3 separate regions of the Homo sapiens genome follow, and regions 1 and 3 are each linked to region 2. Evidence: promoter capture Hi-C in 16 types of primary human blood cells and fetal thymus (Javierre and others, 2016). All regions are on one chromosome and are shown on one strand. Each heading gives the region's core, a stretch centred on a gene start or on the middle of the fragment in contact. The rest is flanking DNA. Distances are from core to core; before and after follow the strand shown.

Region 1 (2,700 bases), core at 171-2,670, 850 kb after region 2:
GTAACATGTGATAGGATTTCCTTCATTACATCTGCATGACATTCCACTGTAATTACACACCACACTTTCTTAATCCACTCATCTGCTGATGGATACTTGGGTTGCTTGTACTCCTTGGCTATTGTAAATAATAGCGTAAATAATTTCGGCGTGCAAATATCTCTTTGAGACCCTGCTTTGAATTATTTTGGATATATACCCAGAAGTGGGTTTGGTGAATCACACAGTAATTCTATTTTCAGTTTTTTGAGGAACATGTTTTCTATAATGTTTTGTGGAACTGTTTTCCATAATGGCTGTACTGTTTTTAATTCCCATAAACAATGCATAAGCTTTCCAATTTTTCTGCATCCTTGCCAATTCTATGACAATTACACAGATAGGAGGAAGAAATCTTTTACAGGAGTGTATTCAGGAAATAATTGAAGAAATTGATTCTACTATATAGCAAAAGAAAACAATAGATAAAACAGTATTTTCATACCTCCTATTAATGGCAAAAAGTATCCCAAAGAACCAAAATATGTTGTGATCCCAATGACAGATTTCAACCAATAAGAGTTTGAAATGAAATAGCTTTTCTTAAATTTCATAACACTGGCACTTGGCTTTTGAGCAAAGGAGTGGAAAGGTACGGAAAGAACTGGAGGGGGCTAAGAAGACACAGGCTGAATCCACTCATACTGAGAAGATGCTAGAGGGCCTCACAGGACCCTTCCATCCTCACCTTTCCCACCCCACCTCACACCCCGAGCAGCTCTGCATCAATCTTTTTAAAAAACTGTTGAATAAAGCAAAAAGAAAAGGAAAAAAGGAAAGCCATTAGTCTTTATGCTCCTTCCAGGATTAAAATTCAATTTCTTCAATTAGGGTAGGAATCCTTGTCTATTTCTCACTTTGCATATATACCTCCCCAAGTATAAACTTCCCATCTTCATTCTGAAAAGTAAATGTGCCTCAAACCAATTAGTGAAGTAGAACAAAACCTTCAAATTCTATTTTCCACAGAGCATATAATCCTATATCTACTTAAATATACAAAGCACTACTTTCAGTCATCATTCTTGCTCAATCAATACCATTTATCTATTAATAGGATGGCTCTCTTATTTGCTCTAGCATAAAACTGACCCCATAGTAGTTATAGAAGTTGAAGAGATACAACTTAAAAAGAATCTACCCTTTTAAATTTAACCAATCCCAGTTGTCCTTTATAACAACTGATACATGGATATTCAACTAGTGTATGGCAAGGCAGTCACCAGCACTGGAACGAAAATGGGTCCTTTCCTATATACGAAGAGAACACTGTACCATTACTTTTGAGAGGGAGAATGGCAAAAAACACTGACCCTAGGGCCCTTGCTCCCTAGTCATGCCCCTAGACCCAGTGAAGCCTCCCCTTGTACACTTGCTGACAGGATCTCTATTTGCAGTCTGTTTGGGTATGTTCTGGCCACACTAAAGCTACTTGTAAATATTTCTGCCATTTCCCTTTAGGAAACCCAGGGCCTGGTATAATATGTGATTCTCTCATGCTCGAGGCCATTAGGGTAAATGTGCCTCGTGTATCCCACTTAAAAAGTTAACGCAGGAAGAGGTGCAGACGCTGGTAGACACAGTCTGCCTTTCTTCCTGCTGTCTGGTTAATGTAGCAACTGGCTGCTCAGGAAGGAAGGGGAGGGAGATGGACCGGAGAGCTGAAAAGACGGCTGGCGCTAGGTAGGATTTACCTCATAGACTTACCCACACCATCCCTCCCTAAAACAAGCTACAGTGCATGGCGCTCACATTGCATTTTGAGGTAAAAGTTCTCAATATAGGTGCTGGCAATGTGCTCTATCTCGATCTGGATGGTGTTTACCAGGGCTATAGATGAACTATGCAATGGGTAAAAATCAGTCAAGTACACTTAGAATTCGTGTACTACATGTTAATAAGACTTTGAGAAATTAAATTTTAAAAGTTCCCAATATAGACTTACTAAATGACAGAGGATGGCTCCAATTCATTCCTTTCAGGTGTTTTAAAAAAAAAAAAATTTTTGCAATGACCTGATGTCTCCAACTTCTAGTCTAGTCTCTCTCCCTCCCATCCCCTTTTTGCATCACTAACACATTAAAATTCCTGAAGTTCCACTCTGATCAAGTCATATTCCAGGGTAAAAATCCCTGATGGCTCTCCACGGTTTATCACTGTCTATAAACTCCCTGGCCTGGCACTCATTCCCCACTCCAGGGTTAGCCACATGCCCTGGCCCAAAACACCCCTCAACAGCCTTCCCTAAGCCCGTCCTATGAAGATCTCCCAGCCCACACTTTGGTGCGTGTGATTTCCTCTCCTCTACCTCCACCCCTCCCCAAATTTCCATCTTGGACTGTTAAACATATGTATGTATACCTTTCCAGCTTCCTCCAAATGAATACTCTAATAGTAACAGCAAGAGATCTTTGTTTATTATGGATTTGATAATTAATAATGTTTTAATATCATTTACTACATACAATGTAAGCTTCACGAAGACAAGGCTCTTTGTTGTATTCACCAATGTATCTCTTGGGCTTGGAAGAGCGGCTGGCACATAGTAGATGCACAACGATTATTTGCTGATTTGATGATAATAGCTTTCCTGAAGGAGAGCCTGTTTCCCACACACTGTGCTTTAATACAGATCATTTCTATTCCTGAAAACACCAAAGC
Region 2 (2,700 bases), core at 158-2,657:
TAGGCAGCCTCGAGTGATAGCCTGGTCCAACGGCCCACACCTTAGCGCCAGGCTCAAGGTACAACACTTCTGTGCCTGCCTCCTTTCTGGGTGCCCGTCCCAATACTCGAAGCTTCTACACTGAAGCCATTTTTGAGAGAATGAATAGGGAGGGGCAATTTGGGGAGCTGTTTTCTGGTCAATTTCTCATCCTTAAATTGGTGTCAGGGGCTGGGGAGGGCGGGGCGCAGAGGGAGAGGGAAGCTAGCCGAGGTCTCCACAAGCCACCCCTCACCCAGGGAGAGCCAGGGACCAGCTCAACTCGAGGCAGTGCAGGCAGACCCAGCCAGCCATGCTCGGGCTCCCAGGGGTGCAGAGCCGCTAGGGCAGACCAGGAAGAGAACAGAAACGCACCCGGGATCGCCCGGGTGCGAGCGGAGAAGAAGCTGGAGCAGAGCCGGAAGACCAGGGCTGGGAATAGGTCGTCATTTACCGGGCAGAGTGGACTTCCAGAGGTGGGGAGGCTGCGCCTGCTCTTTGGGGCAGTACATTTGGCCGTTCCAGCCGTTGGGCAGCGCCCAGGGCTGGTAGCTTTCCATGGGAAGACCCAAGGGTTCGTGGCGCGACTCGCCGGGGCCCCCGAGGCCCGGCACCACTGGCATATCCAGGTAGCCAGGCATGGGCTGATGGTGGTGGTAAGGCCCGGCTGCGTAGCCCTGGTGGTAGAAGGCGAACTCCTTAGCGCGGGAGCTGAACTCCTCGGCAGCTGGGCCGGCGGTATCCATGTACTTGTCCGCGAAGGCGGCGGCGGCGGCGGCCGAGGCGGGCTGCGCGCACGACTTGATGGCGTTGGGGTGCGGGCCCATGCGGGCGCACGGGTAGTAGCCGCTGCCGAAGTAGCCATAGGGCAGCGCCGCGGGCCCCGACGAGCTCTGCGCCGCTGCCGAGCAGGGGCTGCATTGCTTGGCGGCCTCTGCGCCCGCCGGGCCCGCCGGGCCGGGACCTCCCGAGGACGACGCGGCGGCGGCGGCGGCGGCTGCAGCGGCAGCCGCGGCAGCAGCGGCGGCAGCCGACGGGGGCGCCTCCCCGGGGGCGCTGCTGTAGGCGGACGCGGCTCCTGGCGCCAAGGGCGCCGGGTGCGCCATCAGGTTGCGGCACTGGTTGGCCGCGGCCGCCGCCGCAGCCGCGGCCGCCGCCGCCACCGAGAAGTTGCCCCCTGCCGCCGCAGCCGCCGGGTGGGGGAAGCCCCCGCCCCCGGCCCCGGCAGCCGCCGCCGCTGCAGCCGCTGCTGCAGCCGCCGCCGCCCCTTCCATGTTCTTGTTGAGCTCGTCGGCCACCAGGCCGCCGCCGTTGTCGTAGAGAAACATGACGGTGGGCTCGATCCAGCGGGGGTGGAGGAGCACGGAGGCTGTCATAGCCCGAGCCGCATGGAGAAGACCCCAGTGGCGCTGTTTTAAAAAGCCCCCAAGAAGTGAAGAGCGCGCGGCGCGGGGCCGGGGCCCGAGCGAGGGGGGCGGATCGCGCCCCGCGGGGTCGCGCCAGGCGGCCGCCCATTGGCCCGGCCCCCCCGCTCCGCCCACGGCGTATGCAAAGCGGGCGGCTCCGACTCCAGCTCTGCACGGTGCACCCGTCGTCCCCGCCGCGGCCCGCGCCGTCCCCAGCGCCAGCCGCGCGGCCGCGCACCATTCACCCGGGGGAGAGGCGGAGGAACGTGCGGGTGGGGCAGGGAAGGAAGGCGGCCCCATCTCCGCCCCCCTTCCCTTCCTTTATCCCAGTGGGGCCCAGACCCGCGCAACCAGGCGGGGAGGGGAGGTGGGCGCGCGATTGGGTTGCGATCTGGAGCAGTGGGGACAGGTCAGGTAATTCTGCCGGCGGTCAGGGATGGGAGAGTGGGGAGGACGGGACCAGCCTAGCTCAGAATGGGTGTTTCTTGGAGCCTCTGGGACTGTTTTCTTTCCAGGAACCGGCGCGTATTTCTGCAGTGAGACCACAGGACGGACATCGGCGCCTTCGGCTTCGATGGAGTTGCGATTTTGCTCTTTCCAGGGAAACAGTGGCAGGGTGTTTGCTGCTTATCGGTTCCTGCGGATATGCCTGGGTCCCAGGACATTCCACTGGAGGCTTGGACTGCATTTAGGAGCCCCTATCCCTTCCCTGTCCACACTGTTAGTGAGCAATTTCATATGTTTGCATTTAGACCCATAGACTCAGAACGACTCATCACACACACACACAGTGTACACTGACACACTCACATTCGCACACTTAGGTATACAGCCTGATCCTTGCTCTGACCTGGTAACAACGCTTCCTCCTCCAGAGACTTTGAGATAGAGCGAGCGATCCCTGTGCACCATTCATCCATGCTCCCACCTCGCCAGTATGGCTGGCTTAGTTCTGGAAGGGGCTTAAGAGGAACAAGCCCCAGCTGTGCTTCTGGCTGGGACTTAAACCCCCCTTCTGGGCCCTAAAGCCACGCTTCTTTGTGGACCGGACCTGACTCTCCAGGAATCTGGGAACCCGCTATTTCACTCTATTTTGGGACAAGAAAAAGGGGCTCTTTGGGGCCACTTCCTGCCTTCCCCTCAAGTAGGATCTCCAGCCTGCAGAGGGTGCCTAGTCCTTCTTTGCCCAAGAACCAGTCCAAGAAGCCTTTCCTCTGTGCCTGGGAAATGCAACCTTTTCTTGGGAGCATGGTAGGGTGTTGGTGCTGAAGAACCA
Region 3 (2,700 bases), core at 95-2,594, 810 kb after region 2:
CTGTGGTTTTCCTGTGCTGTCATTATTCACCTTGGTAACAAATCAGGCTGTATCCAAGTATATTAGTTTTGTATTTCGGAAGCCAGTTTTGTCAAGGATTTGACAAAAGGAATTGCCTTCGTTACTTCCTATCTCCCAGGGAAGCCGAATCATTGCTTAAAAAAAAAAAAAAAAGTCACAGGAGAAAGAGCTGAACATCTGGACACAGACTGACTGGATGGCCCTGCCTAAGAGTTATCAAATGTAAGTGCACATAGGTCACAGCTTACTCAGGTCAAATTCTGGTCCAAGAGGCTCTGCCAGGCTGGCTAGAGCATTATGCCTGCCGACTCCACACCCAGGTGGCAGCCAGGAACACAGTGTTCAGGTTCGTGGGCCACAGAGGTTATGTGCTAGCTGGGGATTTATCGTTCCTGATTCTGTGCAAGTTGTGTATTCATTCTACTTGCTAATGAGTAGGGGAGCATGCTGAGCTGTAACTCAATTGATCTCGCTGATGGTGTGAATTTGGGTGTCTGGGAAGTCCCTGGACCTTCTCAGTTATCTGGCACTTGGCAGATGGCTCCTGACAATCTTGGCTTCTGTGGAAGGACTTCTGGGAATTAACTCTGGACTTTCTGTTGCTTAAAAAAAAAAAAAAAAAGGCTTAAATTTCTTTAGACAATGTAAGATGGTAGTTACTGACAGTCTGCTACTTTCTGTGTGACTTGAGCAAGTTTCTCAGCAGATAAAGATGACAGTGACTCATGGCTCCTACACATGAAGAGGTTATTAAGAGGATTAAAAGAGATAAGCCATAGACAGCACAGAGCACAGTGGCTGGTACATGATAAATACTTAATAAATCTTACCCACTAGGGGCCAGGCTCAGTGGCTCATGCCTGTAATACCAGCACTTTGGGAGGCAGAGGCAGCTGGATCACCCCAACTTGGTGAAACCCCATCTCTACTAAAATACAAAAATCAGCCAGGCGTGGTGGTGTGCTCCTGTAGTCCCAGCTACTCAGGAGGCTGAGTCAGGAGAATTACTTAAACCTGGGAAGCGGAGGTCACAGTGAGCCAAGACGGCACCACTGCACTCCAGCCTGGGCAACAGAGCAAGACTGTGTCTCAAAAAAAACAAAAAACAAAAACCCCAAACACCAAAAACTTACCCACTAGGTACCATTATTATTTTAGGTAGTAAGGTCTGAAAGCATTTAGTGCTTGCGTTGTGGGACTACATTTGTGAACAATCAATAGTTCTCAAGTAGCAATAATAACTGATAATAAAGATATTATTACTATCACTGCGTGTCTACTATGGGTCAATACAAAATGAATTGCTTTCTGTGTGCAGTCCTCATGAAAATCCTGTAAGGGAGATATCTCCTGACCCACCCCACTTCCCAGAGGAAAATATAAAGCTCAGAAAAGGCCCAAATCACAGGACCAGGAGATAAAGCCTTAAATCTGGGTTTGTCTGACTTCAAAGTATGTGCTATTTGACCACATTTGCTGCTTCCCCTGAGTAGAAATAACTTGTTTCATAGCATGGAGCCCTGAAACACTGTTCAGTAACAATGCTCTCTAATTAAATTGCCAGGTGGCCTTTCCTTTGTATTTTAACTTTTAAGGTGATTTTATTATATCTCTTCCATAAATGAACATGGATTTTTTATGACAAAATTAAAATAAGCATTATGTAACTATTAGCATAAAACATTTTTGTTCTTGTATGACCCAACATCATCTTACATGGCCCCAGAAGCACATGGAACACTTTCCAGGCACCCCACCTTGCCTAATTCCCACTCTTTAAGTGCTATCCAGCTACTGCAATGGGATGTCAACAGCCCCATAACTTAGGAGCAGGTAAAAGTATGCTATTCCTGATCTTTCCAATAAAGTTTATGTTTTTGATTGCCCACGTCTGACTCTAGGCATAGAATTATTTCTGGACCCAAATATTTCTCATGCCCAGTACTTCGGGAGGCCGAGGTGGGCAGATCACCTGAGGTTAGGAGTTCGAGACCAGTCTGGCCAACATGATGAAACCCCATCTCTACTGAAAATAAAAAAAATTAGCCGGGTGTGGTGAGGTGGGAGGATCACCTGAGGTAGGGAGTTCGAGATCAATCCGACCAACATGGTGAAACCCTGTCTCTACTAAAAATACAAAAATTAGCCAGGTGTGGTGGTGTGTGCCTGTAATCCCAGCTACTGGGGAGGCTGAGGCAGGAGAATCACTGGAACCCGGGAGGCGGAGGTTGCAGTGAGCCGAGATCATGCCGCTGCACTCCAGCCTGGGCAACAGAGTGAGACTCCATCTCAAAAAAAAAAAAAATTATTTCTGGACACTAAGGTTGCTCTTGGGGCTGGCAGGCAACTCTCTGAATTAAGTGGTTGGTTTTGGCCTCATTGCCATGGTGGCAGGAATCAATACAAATTGACCAGGTGACCAGCTGGATGGGAAAGCATACAGGTCTGAGACATGCCTCTTTCCCTTTTTTAAAAAGACTTAAAAATTAGACTTTTTAAAAGAGCAGTTTTAGGTTCACAGCAAAATGGAGAGGAAGGTACAGAGATATCCCATATACTTTTGCTCCCACCCCATGCATGGCCTCTCCCATTACTAGCATTCCCCACTAGAGTTCTTTTTTTTCCTCGCTAAAAAGTGCTTCATAGAATGCTGGAATGCTTTGGAAGCACTGGGATGAA

Evidence for each region. The method cuts DNA at HindIII sites, captures the fragments that hold promoters and counts their contacts. A CHiCAGO score of 5 or more calls a contact.
Region 1: a fragment that was not itself captured here is called in contact with the fragment with the promoter of HOXA13 in region 2 in 1 of 17 cell types (endothelial precursors); the score reaches 6.2 in endothelial precursors.
Region 3: a fragment that was not itself captured here is called in contact with the fragment with the promoter of HOXA13 in region 2 in 1 of 17 cell types (endothelial precursors); the score reaches 6.1 in endothelial precursors.

What each region holds. Positions count from the first base shown.
Region 1 is chr7:28,053,136-28,055,835 of GRCh38, forward strand. All of the region lies in intron 1 of JAZF1 (JAZF zinc finger 1), which reads right to left. The region is part of intron 2 of LOC105375208 (a long non-coding RNA gene); the gene reads left to right. Among named protein-coding and RNA genes, the nearest start is that of JAZF1-AS1, 130 kb to the right of the region's middle. The HindIII fragment of the contact is 2,180 bases long and covers 331-2,510 here.
Region 2 is chr7:27,198,684-27,201,383 of GRCh38, forward strand. HOXA13 (homeobox A13) reads right to left here and starts at 1,408. Exons shown (of 2, transcript NM_000522.5): 1 at 473-1,408. The coding sequence starts at 1,394. HOTTIP (HOXA distal transcript antisense RNA) reads left to right here and starts at 1,738. Exons shown (of 3, transcript NR_037843.3): 1 at 1,738-1,838; 2 at 1,940-2,700. The HindIII fragment of the contact is 3,899 bases long and covers 111-2,700 here.
Region 3 is chr7:28,005,257-28,007,956 of GRCh38, forward strand. All of the region lies in intron 1 of JAZF1 (JAZF zinc finger 1), which reads right to left. Among named protein-coding and RNA genes, the nearest start is that of JAZF1-AS1, 170 kb to the right of the region's middle. The HindIII fragment of the contact is 3,147 bases long and covers 1-2,700 here.